Linked DNA regions of Homo sapiens: region 1 is linked to region 2. The links are contacts of gene promoters, found by promoter capture Hi-C in human tissues and cell types (Jung and others, 2019). All regions are on one chromosome and are shown on one strand. The core of a region is centred on a gene start or on the middle of the fragment in contact, and the rest is flanking DNA. Distances in the headings are between cores, read along the strand shown. Region 1 overlaps GRM8 (glutamate metabotropic receptor 8). Region 2 holds the start of POT1 (protection of telomeres 1).

Region 1 (5,028 bases), core at 2,397-4,896, 1.5 Mb after region 2:
TCCTGTGTCTACTAAAAATACAAAAATTAGCCGAGCATAGTGGCACATGCCTGTAATCCCAATTACTCAGGAGGCTGAGGCAGGAGAATTGCTTGAACCGAGAGGCAGAGGTTCCAGTGAGCCGAGATCGCGCCACTGCACACCAGCCTAGGCAACAGAGCAAGACTCCATCTCAAAAAAAAAAAAAAAAAAAAAAAATTTACAGTACTGCCATGTCCTAGGACTTCACATTCAATCACCACTCATTCACTTAAAGATCCAGGGCAACTTCTAGTCCTACAAGCTCCATTCATAGTAAGTTCCCTATTTACATGTATACCATTTTTTATCTTGTATACTCTATTTTTACTGTATCTTTACTATGTTTAGATATGTTTAGATATACAAATATCATTGCATTACAACTGTGTACACAATTCAGGACAGTAACATGCTGTACAGGTTTGTAGCTTAGATAGACTAGGCTACACCATATTGCCTGGGTGTGTCGTAGGCTATACCATTTGGTTTGTGTAAGTACACTGTATGATGTTTGCGCAAAGACAAAATTGCCTAACAACACATTTCTTAGAACATGTCATCAAGCAATCCATGACTGTAGTAAAAATTAAATGACAGTAGAAACAAAAATGCTGCAGCAATTTTAATCTGTCAAAATCAGTAGCCTCATTTATAGTATATAAATATTTACTAGAAAACTAAAAATATAAAAGTGCTAATCTTTAATATTTTGGTAAAATTTTACATTTGCACATATGTAAAATGAAAGAACAGATCAATTATCTGTCCTACAAAATATAAAAAATATTTTTTACTACCTAAGTCAAAGACCTCAATTCTTAGAGGCTGATGTAATGACCAAGAAAGGTAAGTAATTATAATTAGCTGTCCTATGAGAATGAATACCTCTTCCACTTAAAAATACACAATAATCTTAGACTCTAGAGGTAAACATGCTAAAATATCAAATATATAGAAAACATGTGAATTGCCAATGCATATTTATGGTTTCTTTTGGTTTCATCAAAAGGAGACAAATGAAGATAAAATTTAAGAAAATAAAGACTCAAATAAAGAAATGTTTAATTGTTCTGTTGCCAACATACTGTAAAGTAAAACTCATTATTGTAAGGCCATTACAGAGATATTATGCCAAATTTATACTCATGCCTAAGCTTCTGGAGAATATAAATCTAAATCCAAATAATTCCTTTGTATTGTTGAAAGATGTGATGCAATGAATCTCTGTCCTAAAATTCAAATGTGATGTCCTATTTTTTCATGTAATTCTGGAATGAATAATCGTAAGATAAAAGATACTTTAAAAAGCAAAGAATGTATGTGTTTCAATATATGAATCCAATTCAGGATGAAACAGATTTTTAGAAAATAATTTATTTATTGAACATTGAATAAGACTAGAAATTGTAAAGTTCCTCCTCGGAAATAACTGACAATCAGACTCATTCCATCTTAGTGACACTATTGATGGATTAGACAAGTTCTTACCAGAGACCAAGTTCATACAAAGTTCACAACCACTAAAATTAACTCAGATAGCCCTAAGAAGTGCTACTATAGATGTTTTTTTCATTGTTGTTATTTTTTATTTCATTGAATATTATGAGCTTCAGGCTAAAAATAGTTGACATATCTGCTTATCTTATCTACATTGCTTATCCTTCTAGGTTATTATTGTGGCACCCTGCAAAGGAAGTAGACTTTAGACCTGGTTTTAAATTACATTCTATTCCCTGCAAAATGCGTGAAAAAAAAAAAATCATTGGGCCAGGTTACTGGGCCTCAGTTTTATCACTGGTTCAAAACCTACAATACTGTGTTCCTGTAAGGTCAAAAGCAGAATAGATCGGGATGGAACAGCTGTAGTCTGGAAGAACCAATATAGAACCAGCCTCCCTCCCTCCTTTCCTCCCTATCTCCCTTCCTTTCTTCCTTCCTTATTTTCTTTTCTTTCCATGAACCATACATGAGACCTAATGGAGTCTTACTTTCTACTTAACCTTTCCAAAAGGTAAAATATTTGTTACATTTGGTTTGGTGTGAAGTGAAACACAATGATTTTCTATGATCACTCACTTTTACTTTCTATTTTTAATTTATATAATACTCTCGTATGCCTCTAAATTTCCTCTAAGAAAATAAAATCTGTCCTTCAGTTCTGCTTTTGAAGGACTTTCATATAATCTTCACAGACAAGGTGGAGAAAAATTGTCATAAGAGTGATAAAAATGACTGTTAAAAGGGTCATCCAACTTCCTACACTGTTCAATATTTTCAACAATAACTAAAATGTATGAAATAGTTATAAAATTTGTATATAGCTAGAAAAAGAATTATGGTTGAAATAGAGTAGCAAGAGCTGATAGATCTTGAACAATAAAGTTTTCAGAAGATGTCCATTCAACAGATGGCAGTTTGGATTAGATCAGTTTTAAGGATCTTTCTAACTTTGGGGCTCTGTAGCTAATTAAAAATTAACATATTATTTTTTGAACTCTTAAACATGGTTTCTAGAAAGAAAATGGTAGAATTCTATTGAGAATTGAGAAAACAATTCACAAAAGGACAGCAATGCTAATTTTCCTACTGGTTAGAAAAGGAAGTGTAAGGTTCTGGAATCAGATGATTTAGTCAACATGAAAGCAATGATAAGGGACAAACTTTGTGGATGGCAGATACCTCGCAAGAATCTTTATCCCAGAAGTATTATAGAGCAAAATGAATCAGAGATGTACCAATGAGTTCATAGGGAGATGTTTTTCACGGTGCTGATGAATATGCTCATATGAAAATCAGTTTTTGAGCACAGCAACAGTAAATTAATTTCCTTGTGTGCATCACACTGTGTTCATAAGCTAGAAAAAACAAATCTACCTCCAGCAGCAGCTGTTTTCATGAATTATTCATGAACATAGCTTAAAGAATACTATGTACAGCATTTGTTAATTGGGTACAGTTGGCAAAATTCATATATATCAACTTTGTTTCTAACTCCCCTCGCACTCTGTTGTGAAATAACACTTGACCTTTTTTAAAAATGTAAACTATAGTCTGCAAATTCAGCAACTAACACAACACTCATTGGTTTCCCATCCAGCTTCGTATTACTTATATTTACTCTGTGTAGCTTTTGAAACTTTAAAATCTTGAACACAGATCTACCCTTTCATTGTAGGATGGCCATGGAAGTGAACAAAGGTTAAAAATGGTGATCTGGAGTAGGATTGTGGAAGGATGTGTGAAGATGTCACACATCTTTCTCTCCTGAATGAGTACACTGTAATCACTTTACTTCGGCCCAACTTATTCAAACCTAAATTATACTCCTGTAAAAGATCAATGCACTAAAATCTCCAAAGTACAATTAAACTTTTTTTTCAGGCAGTAACTGATATTATCTTGATTTACTTTTTGACTTTACTTCACCTTCTAAACGTGAGCATCTGACTCCTCCAGAATATTATAGGCTTACCCTCCAAATAGGCCTTGTTTTTGCAATCTTTCATTCTTATTTTAGAGAAAATAGAGAAATACATGCAGGCTATATAATTTCCATTTCAACATTAATAGAAAATAACCAAAGGAAAACAGTATCTGTATGAGATTTACTTCAATAATATGAGATTGGTTCTTATCAATACTGAGAATTTTGTTTTTCAGGGCATGTATTTATTCTTTTAAAGTGGTGAAAAAGTTTATTAAATTTTTTCTCCACCACTTTCCAAAGGTGAGTCTGAATGACTGGTATTTATATCACTATAAGTTTGGTTCTTTAATTTGGCAACCATATTTTATAAAGTTTTCTGGATTGCTGCTAAAAAAGAAAAAAAAAAGAGAAAAACAGGTAAAACAATAGACTCTGGTGAGTCATAGTGAGAAGTGCCAGTGTTCAAATTACATCACTGGCCAACAGCAGTTTATTGGCATCCTATAATAGCTTTCAACTTCCTACACTAATGCTGTCAAGGTAGGAAAAAAGGTAAAATTCTGTCCTCAAATCACAAGCATTCTACTTTGATGCCTTTAATGGCAGTTACAGTATACCTTTTGCTAAGAGCCGAAATAGGTTTATCATTAGTAAATTGCTTACCTATACTCAGAGATGATTGTAATGATTTGTTACTAAAGCCCATCCTTACCTTGCTTCGCATATTTCTTACTTCACAAGGTTTCATGTTTGCAGAAAGGTGAATATGTGGAGGGTGTTTGTGAAATTCTTGTAAGGTTCATTTCTCTACACGTGACTAAATTTGGTATTGGTGACCCGAAGATAATCTTTTTAGAACCAATCTGGCTAATGATTCCAGGTAAGCTGATAGTAACTGAAACCAATATGTCTAATTAAGCAATGCTAATTAACTATCACAGGATAGTTCTGTGTATGGTAAATTAGAGTAGACAATGCTTATCTAGAAATCTTGATAGAAAAGAAGGTTTGTAGATGGAATGTAGACCATAAGTTGCTATAATAATTAAACCAAATAAAATTAATTTTTAGTTTTTTCTTATATTTAGTGTCAAAAGTATGGAGAGTAGGGGATACAGACTGCTGGATGAATATGAGAGGAAGAGAATATTTTTGCATAGGATTTTGTCCTTAATGCCTGACCGGGTGTGGTAACTCACACCTGCAATCCTAGCACTTTTGGAGGCTTAGGTGGGAGGATCACTTGAGCCTAGGAGTTAGAGACCAGCCTGGGCAACAGAGTGAGACCCTGTCTCTACAAAACAAACAAACAAACAAACAAACAAACAAAATTAGCTGGGCATGACAGCACATGCCTGCAGTCCTAGCTATTTGGAAGGCTGAGGTGGGAGGATCACTTGAACCCAGGAGGTAGAGGCTGCAGTGAGCCTAGATCATACCACTGCACTCCAGTCTGGGCAACAGAGCAAGCTCCTGTTTCAAACAGAAAAAACAAATATTGAATCCCTATGCTATATTCCAAAAGACTGGAAGCCACTCTAATACAAGTACCTTTGCTTTTCTTTCTTTTTTGATTCATC
Region 2 (5,061 bases), core at 2,109-4,608:
TTATACACTGTCGGTGAGAATGTACATTAGTACAACCTCTATGGAAAACAGTATAATGAGTTTTCGAATAACTAAAAATAGAACTACCATTTGACCCAGCAATCCCACTACTGGGTATGTACCCAAAGGAAAAGAAATCATTAAATAAAAAAGAGACCTGCACTCATATGTATACCACAGCAGTATTCAAAATCACAAAGATATGCAATCAACCAAAGTGTACATCGATGGAGGACTGGATTTAAAAAGTCACATATGTACACAATACTATTTAGACATTAAAAAGAATGAAATTATGTCTTTTGCAGCAACATGGATAGAAATGGAGACCATTATCTTAAATGAAACAACTGAGACACAGAAAGAGAAATACTGCATGTTCTCACTCAAAAATGTGAACTAAATAATGTGTACACACAGAAGCAGAGTGTACAGAGATGGACAATGGAAACTTGGAGGGGTAGGGGATTAGGAGTGGAGTGGATGATGGGAGGTTGCTTGGTGGGTACAAGCTGCATTGCTCCAGTGACAGATGCACTGAAGGCCCTTACTTTACCACAGTGCTATATATCAACATAGCAAAACTGCACTTGTTTCCCACACCTATTTACAAAATAAATTTTAAAAATTTTGTTTAAATTATCAAAAGTATCACAACTCATTTCTTGAAAGACATTTTCTGCTTTCATTTTTTCACCTGACATTCAATCCTCAAACTACTGAAAAATGAATTTGCTCTTAGTGTTTAAGCAAAACTAATCTTTCCAAGTGATCAATAATTTCTTGGTTATTAGAATGAACAGATACTTTTCAGACCTTTGAGCATCTAATAGCAACATAATGCTCTGTTTAGTAGCAAAGACAATGGGAATGCAAATCACTGCTCAGCCACTTACTGGCTATTAGACCTTGAATAAATCACTTAACCTGTGTTTGTTTTCCAGCTATAAAATGAGAATAATACTTAGAGTTCTTAGGAGAGAACATATACAAAGAGATTACATATACAAAGCATTTAGGAGAGTGCCTACTAGACAACAATCTATACAAGTGTTATTGAAACTTGCATTCTTACGTATCAAAGACTCCTGAGTTTCTTCCTCCTTCTCTAGACCATCTCTGCTACTTATTCATACTACTTTCTTTCACTGACTCCTTCAACATGGTTCTCTTCTCTTCTATGCTTTGGCTCAAACCCATCTAAATGAGAGTCCCTTTGGGCTTCAAACTCCCCAATCCACTTGCCTACTGCACACTACTATTTATATACCTCTAAAGACCTTTCAAATATGACCAAAATTGAACTTATCATGTTTCTCCCTAAGTATGTACCCCCTATTTTCTTCTCCTTGTTGGCTAGGAATTAGAAACAGAAGTTTCCTGAATTTCTCTTTGCCACTCTAGTCTAATTGTTCTCTAAGACCTACTGATTCTGCTTCTTTATCCTGTCAGGTCTAAAGGAAATCATCTATATTCAAATTCCTGCTCTACTTCATATCATCAATATGATCTCAGGCAAATTGCTTAACCTTTCTGAAACACAGTGTCTTTAATAACAGTACCTATGTCATAGGTCTTTGTGATGATTAAATAATATACGTAAAAACTACCTAACGCATGGAAAAAAATGCAATGAATGTTAACTTTAGTTATTATTATTACTATCTTTTTTCAATATCCTTCCCATCATCCCCTCTGCCACTGGCCCAGATCATCATCAACTCTCACCTAAATTACTGTAATTGCCTCTTAACTAAACATCTTTCCTCTAATCTTGCATTCGCCAATATATTCTCTACCTAGGAGCAAAGTTTTTTGAACTCAAAGTAAATCATGTCTTTCTCCTGCTAAAACCTACTAAAGACTTCCCATAGCTTTTAGAGTAATATCCAAATTCCTCAACATGCACATAAGGACTGCTTTTTACCTCAAAGGAAGGTACAGCACAGTCTGTTATCCCGTAAGTTCCAGCTCAACTTTCGTGATCTGTCAGAACCAAAAGCTCTCTCATGTTCACACATCACAATGCTAATATCACACCTATTAATTTTAATTGGAGATCAGGTGATTGATCTGTCAGACCCCACAGAAATGTGATTATCTTTAGTTCCGGGACTATATTTATTCATCTTTGTACCTCAGAAACTTACTCCAATGTTTCACACACGAATTTGATAATTGTTCGCTAAATAAGTACTGAATAAGAATAACTTATTGAAATATTCAATCTCAAATGTTATGACAAAGATAAAAACCATACCTAAACCAGTTCTCATAAATAAACTCAACACTTAAAAACTGCATTCCTTTTAGTAGGAAAAAGCATTCTGAGTTATAGAAATTCTTACCTGAATATATTTCTTGCTATAATTGTAACCTGGCTGTAGGGATCCGAAATCTACTTTATGTAATTTACTCAGCGGCTGAACTTCAGGCACCCCATTGACTTCCTTTATTAATTCAAGTGGCATATCAGTTCTGCTTCACACTGATGTCCAAAGCAAATTCAACTAGGGAATCTGACAACTTGCTGCTGAAAATACAAAACCAGTGTTTTACCCAAAATGAAGTCAATAATTTGCTTTAAGTCTCTTTGACTTAGTTATGCTTTTCCTTATTATAGTTAACACGGTTCGGGGTTGGGGGGTGACAGGAGGATGGATTATTTTACAATTTTATTGCAAAGATCAATACAAAACATTCTTCCAAGGAACTGAAACTTAACCATTTTCTACTTAGCTGCGTAAAGTACCTCCAAAAAGCCAGTTTTAAGATCTGTAACGTCACTAACAAACGCTTTTAACATTGTGCTTTAAAATGTAAAATTTATTGGGGAAGAGGGAGGCTGAAAAATCGTGTTTTTTTTTAACCCCCACGGGAGCTGTAATATTGTATAGACAAACTGTGCACCAAAAGCATCGTACTCCAACATGTTTCTGTGGCCCCCTCCCTTCACCCGCTAAATAAATGAAGAAACAAAAATTACTGAACTGAGATTAACTTCTGCATCGTAGGCTCAACCTTATTTCACAGACCTCTTGACGGGGACACTCACTAGTGTCGATATCTAATTTTAATGTTTGCGCACCAACCTTCCCCCAAGCCACCTGAGCTCTGTGAGGGCGGGGACTTGGACTTAACTCCTGTCTGCTTCTCCCAAAACACCAAGAAAGATGCTGAACACAGCAGGCTCGAGATAAACACTCGTAAGAAAGCGTTTCTCTGCGATAATTACATCAAATTTTGATCTAAACTAATTCAATCCCGGGCCCGTTACGTCTGGCACCCACTCAAATGAACACACCAAACCTTACAAATTTCACTCACCCGTACTCTAGAAAGAACCCTAGGAAGAGTTTAGGCGGGCGCGCAGGTGACGTCACACGCACGCTGACGGTTCAGCTCCACGCATGCGTGCAGGATCCCTGGGCATAGTCGCTTGTTCTCCGCCCGCGGTGGACCAGCTGCGTAACGGTTCACACACTGATGGCGCCTGGAGGTTTGGCGAAATACTGACAGGATGCGACGTCAACGGGAGCGCAGGGCCAAGGTACAGGCCCCGCCCAGTCCGGTCACATCCCCCGGAATTCTCGCAGCTCCCCTTAGCTCCGCCCCCAGTGACTTTCCAGCTTTCGTGGCGGGAGGCAAGCTTAGGGGAAGCGGGCGGGTCCGCTGGGCGGGATTTGAGCTTCCCTTTGGTAGATTCGAAGCTCCTGTAGGCAGAGCCTTTCTTTTAATGTCCAGTTCTCTTCCTCCAAGAAATAGGCACCTACTGCAGTCTTTACAAGGAAGCATTTACAAGGATAACAATGTTATTTGGGAGTTTTTATAGTAATTTCGGGCATTGGCATAATGCCACCATTGAGTCTTGCTATTTACAGACAGATTTGATTAACCTTGTCATTGTTTTATAGGGCCATGATTTTGTGGTATAATTAATATTTATTATAATTTATTTTATAGGTTTATTATAGTTTATTTAATATTTATTATAACTTATAATTGATAAATATTATAATTTATCATTTATAATGATAAATTGTTAAACATGAATTCTCTGCTAATTCCAGATATATGCCTTCAATCATTTAAGTGAAATCATCCTAGTGTGAAACTAAATGTAATAAAGAATTACATGAATATTTCCAAGGCTAATTTGAACTAAAATATCTTCTTTATATACATATTTGCAGGAGGATATAGCTAACTTTTTTTTTTTTTTTGAGACGGAATCTCGCTCTGTCACCAGGCTGGAGTGCAATGGCGCAATCTCGGCTAACTGCAACCCCCACCTCCCGGGTTCAAGCAATTCTTCTGCCTCAGCCTCCCTAGTAGCTGGGATTACAGGCGCAGGCCACCATGCCTGGCTAATTTTTGTATTTGTTTAGTAGAGACGGGGTTTCCCATTTTGGCCAGGCTGGTCTCGAACTCCTGACCTTGTGATCCGCCCACCTTGGCCTCCCAAAGTGCTGGGATTACAGACATGAGCCACTGTGCCCAGCCAGCTATGTTTGAAGTGCCTTTTTAATCAACAGGAAGCATTCAGTATTAGCCCATCTCCTGTTTCCCCTCCCCATCCCTGTAGTTATATCCCACGCAGAAGCCGGGGTGACAAGTGCATGAACTCAGGAGCTGTCCATTTGAGGAAAACTATAGGGAAGGTTTAGATGCTATCCTCCTTCCATCTCTGGCTGCATCCGGCTGAGAAATACTATTCCTCCTTTTTATGTGAAGCCCTCCACATGGGCTTTGGACCCTGACCAATTTCATCTCCCTTCCATCATCATCAATATATTTTCTCTTAATGTATTTTAAGCTTTCCTTCTTTTATTCATTCTTTCCCGTCACCATTTAAACACATTCTCCCAGGCTCTTGCTCTGTCGCCCAGGCTGAAGTGCAGTGGCGAGATCATAGCTCGCTGCAGCCTGGAACTCCTGGGCTCAAGCTATCCTCTGGCCTCAGCCTTCTAAGTAGCTGGGACTACAGGCACAGGCCACCACACCCGGCTAATTTTTTAAAAAAATTTTGTGGAGACGAGTTCTCACTATGTTGCCCAGTCA

Evidence for each region. Contacts are between HindIII fragments. The study calls those that stand out against the background at their distance.
Region 1: a fragment that was not itself captured here is called in contact with the fragment with the promoter of POT1 in region 2 in 1 of the 25 tissues and cell types used here (lymphoblastoid cells).

The regions. Positions count from the first base shown.
Region 1 is chr7:126,440,237-126,445,264 of GRCh38, forward strand. All of the region lies in intron 10 of GRM8 (glutamate metabotropic receptor 8), which reads right to left. Among named protein-coding and RNA genes, the nearest start is that of MIR592, 620 kb to the right of the region's middle. The HindIII fragment of the contact is 6,136 bases long and covers 579-5,028 here.
Region 2 is chr7:124,926,467-124,931,527 of GRCh38, forward strand. It overlaps POT1 (protection of telomeres 1), which reads right to left and starts at 3,359. Exons shown (of 19, transcript NM_015450.3): 1 at 3,328-3,359; 2 at 2,349-2,533. POT1-AS1 (POT1 antisense RNA 1) reads left to right here and starts at 3,407. Exons shown (of 8, transcript NR_125719.1): 1 at 3,407-3,550. RefSeq lists enhancers at 3,295-3,594, 3,349-3,643. The HindIII fragment of the contact is 5,005 bases long and covers 1-4,232 here.